Linked DNA regions of Homo sapiens: regions 1 and 2 are each linked to region 3. The links are contacts of gene promoters, found by promoter capture Hi-C in blood cells and fetal thymus (Javierre and others, 2016). All regions are on one chromosome and are shown on one strand. The core of a region is centred on a gene start or on the middle of the fragment in contact, and the rest is flanking DNA. Distances in the headings are between cores, read along the strand shown. Region 1 has its middle 40 kb from the start of SLC38A11. Region 2 has its middle 64 kb from the start of SLC38A11. Region 3 holds the start of SCN2A (sodium voltage-gated channel alpha subunit 2).

What was found. Contacts are between HindIII fragments. The CHiCAGO score rates a contact against its expected background, and 5 or more counts as called.
Region 1: a fragment that was not itself captured here is called in contact with the fragment with the promoter of SCN2A in region 3 in 1 of 17 cell types (erythroblasts); the score reaches 5.3 in erythroblasts.
Region 2: a fragment that was not itself captured here is called in contact with the fragment with the promoter of SCN2A in region 3 in 3 of 17 cell types (fetal thymus, megakaryocytes and erythroblasts); the score reaches 7.2 in fetal thymus.

The regions. Positions count from the first base shown.
Region 1 is chr2:164,994,049-164,997,411 of GRCh38, forward strand. No RefSeq gene overlaps it. Among named protein-coding and RNA genes, the nearest start is that of SLC38A11, 40 kb to the left of the region's middle. RefSeq lists an enhancer at 851-1,351. The HindIII fragment of the contact is 2,856 bases long and covers 168-3,023 here.
Region 2 is chr2:165,017,274-165,020,787 of GRCh38, forward strand. No RefSeq gene overlaps it. Among named protein-coding and RNA genes, the nearest start is that of SLC38A11, 64 kb to the left of the region's middle. The HindIII fragment of the contact is 550 bases long and covers 1,731-2,280 here.
Region 3 is chr2:165,237,810-165,241,109 of GRCh38, forward strand. SCN2A (sodium voltage-gated channel alpha subunit 2) reads left to right here and starts at 1,605. Exons shown (of 27, transcript NM_001040142.2): 1 at 1,605-1,831. The HindIII fragment of the contact is 782 bases long and covers 1,311-2,092 here.

The DNA of each region.
Region 1 (3,363 bases), core at 346-2,845, 240 kb before region 3:
CTGATGTTCGGATGTGTTCTTGAGTTTCTTCCTTCTGGTAGGTTCGTGGTCTCGCTGGCTCAGGAGTGAAGCTGCAGACCTTCGCGGTGAGTGTTACAGCTCATAAAAGCAGTGTGGACCCAAAGAGTGAGCAGTAGCAAGATTTATTGCAAAAAGCGAAAGAACAAAGCTTCCACAGTGTGGAAGGGGACCCGAACGGGTTGCCACTGCCGAGTGGTCTGTTTTGACAGGGCGCTGATTGGTGCGTTTACAATCCCTGAGCTAGACACAAAGGTTCTCCACCTCCCCACCAGATTAGTTAGATACAGAGTGTGGACACAAAGGTTCTCCAAGGCCCCACCAGAGTAGCTAGATACAGAGTGTGGATTGGTGCATTCACAAACCCTGAGCTAGACACAGGGTGCTGATTGGTGTGTTTACAAACCTTGAGCTAGATACAGAGTGCCGATTGGTGTGTTTACAATCCCTGAGCTAGACAAAGTTTCTCCAAGGCCCCACCAGAGTAGCTAGATAGAGAGTGTCGATTCGTGTATTCACAAACCCTGAGCTAGACACAGGGTGCTGATTGGTGTATTTACAATCCCTGAGCTAGACATAAAGGTTCTCCACGTCCCCACCAGACTCAGGAGCCCAGCTGGCTTCACCCAGTGGATCCCGCACGGGGGCTGCAGGTGGAGCTGCCTGCCAGTCCCGCACCATGGGCCCGCACTCCTCAGCCCTTGGGTGGTCGATGGGACTGGGCGCCGTGGAGCAGGGTGTGGCGTTCGTCGGGGAGGCTCGGGCCGCACATGAGCCCATGGAGGGGGTGGGAGGCTCAGGCATGGCAAGCTGCAGGTCCCGAGCCCTGCCCCGTGGGAAGGCAGCTAAGACCCGGTGAGAAATCGAGCGCAGCGCCGGTGGGCTGGCACTGCTGGGGGACCCAGTACACCCTCCGCATCTGCTGGCCCAGGTGCTAAGCCCCTCCTTGCCTGGGGCCGGCAGGGCCCGCCGGCTGCTCCGAGTGCGGGGCCCGCCAAGCCCACGCCCACCAGGAACTCCAGCTGGCCCGCGCAAGCGCCGCGCGGAGCTCCGGTTCCCGCTGGCGCCTCTCCCTCCACACCTCCCTGCAAGCTGAGGGAGCCGGCTCGGGCCTTGGCCAGCCCAGAAAGGGGCTCCCACAGTGCAGCGGTGGGCTGAAGGGCTCCTCAAGTGCCGCCAAAGTGGGAGCCCAGGCCGAGGAGGCGCAGAGAGAGAGCGAGGGCTGTGAGGACTGCCAGCACGCTGTCACCTCTCAGTTCCAGGTAGTGTTTTCCTATTGGCACAACTTCAGGCATTTGCATGTGCAGGCTTCCACCTTGCTTGCCTATGTCTGCAACTTCATTTTACAGTCTGCTCTTTGTTAGGAAAAGAAATGATTTGAGGGCTGCTTTTAATTAAAAGGAAAACCTTACCAAGGACTCCTGTACCCTCACTATCTGCCTAATTTCTTCTTAACTCCTATATCAATAAAACCCCACGATAATTTTTTCCTATAAAAATGTGTTATTTGAAGAAATTAACGTAAGCTGGGTGTGGTGGCTCACACCTGTAATCCCAGTGCTTTGGGAGTCCAAGGTGGGAGGATCCCTCGAGGCGAGAAGTTTGAGACCAGCCTGGGCAACACAGGAAGACCCTGTCTCTATAAAAAGTTAGAAAATTAGCTGGGCATGTTAGTGTGCACCTGTAGTCCCAACTCCTTGGGAGGCTAAGGTGGGAGGATCATTTCTGGCCCCAGGAGTTTGAGGTTACAGTGAGCTGTGATTGTACCACTGCACTCCAGACTGGGTGACAAAACAAGACCCTATCTCTAAAAAAAAAAAAATTAATATAAAATGTGGAACTTTTCGCTAGTGGAGATGAATGAATATAGTCTGCAGATTTATGGAAATATGACATCTAAAAAGACCAGAATAATTCCTAAATGAAGAGGGGAAGGATATGCCCTAGAATAGGGCATAACTGAATGTCTGGGGAAGGTTTTCAAACTTTACTCCTTCTAATGCAAACCTCTGTGACCCCTTACAACCCCTTCCTCTGGATGGGTATCATTCCATATAATTACAGGCAGTACTGAGAGGGAGATTACAAATTGTAAACATTTTCAGAGGTGGGGGGAGAAAAGATGGAAACCACAAAGACACAGCTATATAAAAGGTTAATTGCATGTATATTTGGTTATGTTAATTTTTGTATATATGCTTCATATCTTTTACAGTCAGTGTGTTAGTGGCAAATAAATACGTGGAACTTACTTTCAAAATATTTTGTTGTTTCTTAAAGTGCCTAATTGTACGCGAAGCCCTTTTATAAGAGAGGTGGAATAGCATGCAGAATCTGATCATTAGATTCAATAAGTAAATACGTATTGAGTACTGATGAAGTACCAATTAAACATTATGATTCATTTTGATAAAACAAGCCAGTCGCATTAGTAAGAAACAGCTTGCTCTGGCTGGAAAACTTGTTCCCTACTTTCACAAGGTTGACTTCTTAATCCGATCAAATGAAAATGTCATGTTCAGCAGAGAGGCCATTTCTGACCATCTAATTTATAGACTGAACACCCCTTACCCCGTGATTCTACTTTATAGCACCTTGTTCTGTTCGCAATTTATAATTGTATTATCACCTGTTTACTTGATTAATGTCTGTCTCACTCATAGATTGTGAACTCCATGAAAGCAAGTATCAAATCTGTTTTAAAGCACACCCAGCATTTAGGGAAATACCTGAGGTAGAAGGCATTCAGTAAACACTTGTGGAGTGAATGTATATATTTCTTTTTCTATATGTGAAAAAACCATTTATTATACAAATCAGTTAAACTGTGATGTCAGTATTATGTCAGATTAATATTATAATGTCATATTCATTAACAACGAGGCCCATAGTAAAAATGAAAGTGTATTTGTCAAACAGTTCATTAGTAGGAAATTGAGTTTAGTATAGTATGAGATTTTCAGGTAAGATATTCTAATCTTTTTGAAGATATGACAGCATATTTAAGCTTTGGGCAGGGCTGACTTTTTTTTTTTTGTTTTTTTGTTCTTGTTTTTTTTTTTTTTTTTTTTGAGACAGAGTTTCACTCTTGTTGCCCAGGCTGGAGTGCAATGGTACGATCTCGGCTCTCCACAACCTCTGCCTCCCGAGATCAAGCAATTCTTCTGACTCAGCCTCCCGAGTACCTGGGATTACAGGCATGCGGCACCACGCCCGGCTAATTTTGTATTTTTAGTAGAGACAGGGTTTCTCCATGTTGGTCAGGCTGGTCTTGGACTCCCAATCTCAGGTGATCCGCCCGCCTTGGACTCCCAAAGTGCTGGGATTACAGGCCTGAGCCATCAA
Region 2 (3,514 bases), core at 756-3,255, 220 kb before region 3:
GTCGTTACAATTTGACAACAGATTTGTTTAGTAATCACGTTATTATATTGTCCTATATACTTAAGAATTATTGTTTTGAGCGTAGTCCAAGCCCTGATGCCATTTTGAAACATACGGAAGCACATTTTGATTAAATGCAGTTTGAATAAAACACTGATGAAATAACAATAGCTTTTGTATCATATTTGTGAACGGTCTTTGGCTGTATCCTAGGTGGCAATAAAAAGGTAGTGAGTCAATTTGGATATTGTGAAAAAATTATTACTATTGAATTACAGCATAGAAAGTAACATATTCCCTAGGCTTCAGGCTCCCTGTCACTTAGCACTGCCTTTGTTCTCTCTGCCCAGAATGTTATTTTCCCTACCATCATCCCAGGCCACTTTCCAGCCACGCCCATCCTTTTGCAAGACTGACTTCTGTGGGTACTGCAGGTCTCAGGGTACAGGTGCCATCTCTGGGCAGCCTTCTCCACTGCTTCTCGATTTTCTTGGCCATTCTGTGCTTCTCCTGTTTACTCCTATGGTCCTCTGTAGGCTCCTATGGGAACTATGTCTTGTTCCTAATTTTGTCTCTAGTACTTAGTACTATGTGCTTAGTAGAAGCCCGTTAAAAAACAAACAATAAATACTTAGAATCTTTATCAAGATGGTGGGAGTGGGGAATAGGAGGAGCAGAGAACTATTCAAACTGTGAAAAAGAGGTTAAAAGAGGATTTGCCACCCTGCCTATTTTAGCGTAGGGGTAGGAGTTTAACATTTGAGGCAATAGCAAAGATGATGGACATCAGTGCTTCTCAGCAAACATTTGACAATCTCAGGTAAGACCAGATAGATCTTAGGTCTATAGCTAGTCAGCTAGTCAGTCATATGACTCAATACTGGTGACAGCTAGGGGCTTAAAGGAAATAAAAACACGTTTGTGAAAATGCTTTGTGTAGGGCTAAGCACAGAGAGGAGTGAGCATCGAATGTCTGCTGAAAAACAAAAGAAGCTTAGACTTTATCGTGATCTTAGCAAAATTCTTTTCCTATAGCTTTCTGGTCGTTAAGGTGACTCCCTCAAGGGCATCAGTCTGCACTGGAAATCATTGCAGTGTGGTAGAGAGAGGGAGAGGGAGCTCTTTATAGAGAGGACTCAGCTCGCCTTCGCCTTCTTAGCATCTTGTTGCTAGGCAATAGCTCCTCTGGTGGAAGCTCATCTCCATTTTTAAAGATGGAGTGAAGTCTTGCCGAGGGAAATGCAGTTTGTACAAACTGGGCCATGTGCAAACAGTATTTTGCTCTAGTCCTGAAAACTGCTTTTCCCTATAAGGGAGACAAATCAGTCCTACTTAAATCCTGTCACTTAACAACCAGATAATATAACTCCTCTCTTTCTCTCTCTTTTCTGTAAAGCATAGACTTCCTTTTTAATCTTATTGATTTATTTTTACCTTTCCAACTATATGTCTTTCCAAATTGATTTAATGAGATTCAGCAGGGCATTGCTTGTAATAGTATTTCCCTAGACTGCTGAATTAATTTCCATTTAAAAAATTACTTTGGATCTGCAGCTCTGTCCGGCACCTAGCGTATTGCTCTTACTGCATTTTACATAATGATAAAATATAATGAGTGGTCAGTAAGAAGGGCCAATATTTAATGAATATAGTTTTTTTTAAACAAAGTGTAGATAGGTCATACTGTTTGTATATATCTGAAAAACCTATACATAATTTGCTAGACTCTAAGCTTTCAAAAACCAATATAGAATAATTATCTTTCTCAGAACTGCAAAATGTCCTTTAGACACTAAGAGCTTTGTGTATTTAATCTTTTAACCTTTTAAATTGTTGGTCAATTTAGACAGCAAAATTGGCAATTCACTTTTATTTTCTCATCTTGTAATAATGTCACAGATTTTTGGAAGCTAGTGACTAAATTCATATAGCCATGTTGTATCAGTCTCTTTTTAATTCTGAAAGTCTTGAATGTATAAATAACTTGAGAAATGTACAGATACCTTACTATGGAGTTTAAAAATTCTGTTCTAATTATTATTGTATGATTTACATAGTAGATCCCTGAATTTATAACAATGTGTTTTTTTTTTTTTTCAAATTTAATTCTGGAGAAGGTCTGACACATGATTGCCACTTCTATTAGTCCATGTTGTGTTGCTGTAAAGGAATATCTGAGGCTGAGTAACTTATAAATCAAAGAGCTTTATTTTGGCTCATGGTTCTTCAGACTGTACAAGAAGCATGGCACCAGCATCTGCTTCTGATAAGGTCTCAGGAAGCTTCCAGTCATGGTGGAAGGCGAAGTGGAGCAGGCATGTCACATGGCAAGAGAGGGAGCAAGAGAGAGAGAAGAGGAGTGCCACACTTTTAAATGGCCAGCTCTTGTGTGAAGTAATAGAGGAGAACTCACTCATTAATGTGGGCAGGGCACCACACCATTTATGAGGGTTCCACCCCCAGGATCGAAACACCTCCCACTAGGCCTCACCTCCAACATTGGAGATTACATTTCAACATGAGATTTAGAGGGGACAAATATCCAAAATAGGCCAGGTGCAGTGGCTCACGCCTATAGTCCCAGCAGTTTGGGAGACTGAGGTGAAAATATCACTTGAGCCCAGGAGGATCACGTAGTGAGCCAAGATCATGCCACTGCACTCCAGCCTGGGCGACAGAGCGAGACTCTGTCGCCAAAAAAAAAAAAAAAAAAAAAAAAAAAAATTAACCAGGTGTGGTGGCGGGTGCCTGTAGTCCCAGTTACATGGGAGGCCCAGGCAGGAGAATGGCGTGAACCTGGGAGGCGGAGCTTGTAGTGAACTGAGATCTCGCCACTGCACTCCAGCCTGGGCAACAGAGGGAGACTCCATCTCAAAAAAAAAAAAAAAAAAAAAGAAGTCCACAAACTTTGGATCTTGAGTGGGTTTAATGAGGTTGAAAGAATTTCCTGACACACTTAAGTTTTAACCTTCCTTCCTTCCCTTCCTGCCCTCCCTCCCTCCCTCCCTCCCTCCTTTCTTTCTTTCTCTCTCTCTCTCTTTCTTTCTCTCTCTCTCGTTCTTTCTTCTGTCATTCAACTTACATTTGTGGATTTCCATCTCTATTAGTTAGCCCATTTTGATAGTGATAGAATTCTAACTTGAACCAGCTTAAGCAAAAAAGGAATTGTTCATGGTAGAGCTGAACACCCCAAACCAGGGTCTGGAAAGCCAGCAGCACACTTTGTCTTACACTCTCATTTGTACTTCTCTCATTATGCTTCATCCTCTTAAACTATCTTTATCTCTGTGTCCGTACCCAGAACTTCTAGCAGCTTCCTGGATCATATCTTCCTAGTTAAAAAGAAAGGAAGGACTTCTAATTTACCAATATTTATATTACAGAAAAGGACCCAGAAGGTAATCTTGAGTCACATACCTACTGAAATACTAAATCCTGTGGCCATGAAAGCAGAGAAAGGAAAGAAATGGCAGTTTCACATGTTCAAAAGGGAAGAGCAGTGGAACAAGAATGG
Region 3 (3,300 bases), core at 355-2,854:
GTTTAAGCTTCTTGGCCATCAGGAGTAATTTGTTGAAATTGCAAATTAATTTGGCAAAATTATCATAATTATGTGCCCTGAGAGCTTATGTATCTTATGATAGTGCAGGAAACTTGTGAGATGAAATAGTTGAGTGTATACATTAAAATAATTTGATCTACCAAGTCACTTTAATTATTTATTTGTTCAGTGTTAAAAATATATTTTCATAACCAAACTAATACATCTTAATAATGTTGTAGAAATGGAAGTAAGGTAAAATTTAAGAAACTGGGTTTGTTCTTCTGACTTGCTTATTAATACTGGATAAGTTACTGAAGAGTGGGCTTTGGTTTCCTCGTCTATTTAATAGTGTGGGAACAACCTTATGTTAAAGCAATCTATTCAGTATAACTTTAGCACACAGAAAATAAAATATTATGAATCCAAAGAAAGTGTAGCTTGCAATCATGTATTTTATTAAATGTATTTATCAGCATTTTGGCTTCTGATGGACATGTGTATATACATATTTTGTGGATAAAAAAATTACTTAACTATTTTTATATTAGATACTATCAATTATTCTGGCTGATCTGGGGACTTTTAATGGTAAATTTTATATCAAATCTGACAAAGACAGTATTTCAGACCCGTTTAAGACCTAGAACTCACCATGAGTTCTAAAATTGGTTCTCAGCACCATGGACAGCGTTACTGCAATAGGAAATTAAAGATCGATTTGGCCCCAAATTAAAATGGTGTTGTAAAAAAGTGGGAGAAAAAAAATGCCTATCCTTTTACTTCAAATTTTAAAAAAATGATCCTGGCCTTCACAACTGTTCATAAGAAGAATAATTAATTAAACAAACATATATTGAGAACATCATATGCTCAGTAAAACTTTGATTCTATAAATGGTGTCATTTACCAAATGGATTCTTTTGACAATTTAATTTTCTCTTATCTCTCTAAGAAGATGTAACTACACACTATAGTATACTACTACAATTATCAAATTTCATGTTGCATGTAACTTGTCGTCTGTATTTTTGTAGTTAGATTAGATTAACTAAAGATTTTTCAAGTTTGCCTTTAAGTCATTTAATTTTCCTGCCTTATCTTTAACCTTTCAACATTCCTCCAAACAATAGCAACACAAGTGTTATGTGTTAACTTCTCTAGTGACAAAAACTTATACTTCTCCACAAAGAGATGTGATGTTCATTATCAATAAGCTTGACATCTAAAATTGTTTTATAGGAGATACATATTACTTTTTCAGATGGTATATAAAGTTAAATAAATCTTAAGTTTTCAATGATGGGAAAAGCTTCCATTTAGTTTAAACATAATGTAAAGAAATTTGAATCCCCAAAATAGAATTATAATTCTAAAAATTCATACTATAATTCTTCTTAAATGTTTAAATTACAGTTAATTAAAGTAGTTGATTTCAAATAGAGTGGAATTATGGGCTGTACATCATTTAATTTTATGTGCTGACTGCTACATAGCCAAAGGAACGTGAATTAAGATGGTTCCACTTTTGACCAGGAGATGGAGCTGTCATGTAAGATGCTGCCTTTATTTATTTATTTTTCTAATTTAGCATGCTGTTTTCTAACAGACATTGGGTACCATCGAATGACTGTCAGAACAGAAAGCTAAGGCAAAGGAGGGAGGATGCTGTGGTCATCCTTTCTTGTTTTTTTCTTCTTTAATGAGGATAGAGCACATGTGAGATTTTACTTTCTACTCCAGTAAAAATTCTGAAGAATTGCATTGGAGACTGTTATATTCAACACATACGTGGATTCTGTGTTATGATTTACATTTTTCTTTATTTCAGGTAAGCCAGCATGATTCTATTTTTGACTTATCCACGGATTGTTATCTATGTTAAGAATGACATTTAATATAAGATGTGTGCTTTGTTAGCTTGTATTCAGATCTAAGAGATTCAAAAGCTCTAATTCTAGCTGTTGTGCAATTTAAAATCTTCCTAGGCTGAAATGAGCTCTGACTATGACATACCGTGTTTTATTATTTCTTTGGCTTTCTAGCTGTTGGTCTCTGTCTCTGGCTGTATTTGTTTACCTTTTAAAGGTAAAGCTTTCAAAGTGAAGGATGGGTTTTCCTTTCACAAGGGAAATACTGCTCCTTAATGCAGTGAACAAATTGTAGAGATATAATGAAGCAGATTAACATGGCAGTGGCTCTGCCAAAGCTCAGGGCTGAGCCTTCTGATTGCAGCCTCAGAGGCAAGCCAATATTCTGAGTCCAAAGGCCTTTTGAACGATTTCTGCTGGCTATGATGGTACAGATTGTTTATGTCTTTATTTTTACCTCTTAGAAATAATACGTAAGTCATTTCTCCCACATGAATCAAGATTTATGTAATGTGTTTAATAGACTTGGAATGAGACTATAGACCCTCCCTCCTCCCCCAGTATGGATGTGAGGAGTATGCTGAACACAAATTAATTGCCATGAAAATTGATTTTTTCTGTATTTTATTGGATTTGGGATAATAGAACCGTGGCCATTTTAAATAGTTGATATTATAGAAGGTGCTCACATTTTAAATTATTTTAGGTCATGTGACATTATCTGTGTTAAAGAGTGGAATGACTCAGGAGGTGGAAGTTGCATGCAACAGCCTTGCTTCTCTCTGCTGCTTCTCGTGATTTCCCTTAAATCCTTGCTTGATTATTATTAGAATAACAGGAATAAAGACATATAGAAATCCTATATTTAAAAACCACTGATTTTCATTTAGAGAAATTTAAAGAGATTTTACAAATATTTTAAAAATAGTTTTGTAAGATTGTTTTTAAATGCCTCACTTCTTTCTCCTGTGGAAAGAGCTGTGTGTGTGTGTGTGTGTGTGTGTGTGTGTGTGTGATGGTGGAGGTGGCAGGCGGTGGAGGTGCATCAGGATGTTTTTATCTCAGTCATTGTTTTCCTGTAAAGAGGTAGTTTTGCCATGTCAGAGGTTGTGAAAGCTATGGGGAATGATTTTATAAAATGGTTTGGACAAACCATGAAAAAAACATGTTTTTTAAATGTGTGGAATCTATAGAGTTTGTAGTTCTACATGGCTCCATATACATGGAGATTTTTAGAATTACAGATATTTAACCATTTATCCCCATTATCATTTAAAGAAAAGCAATTGTAATTGAGAGATAAGGTGGATTTCCCAGAGTCACGTACTAAATTACAATAAGGCAAGGCTAGAACAGTGATTGACAGTTCCACATCTTCCATAGCAGTAACACAATTCACCTCTAGTGTGAACATATCAGGATGGCATAG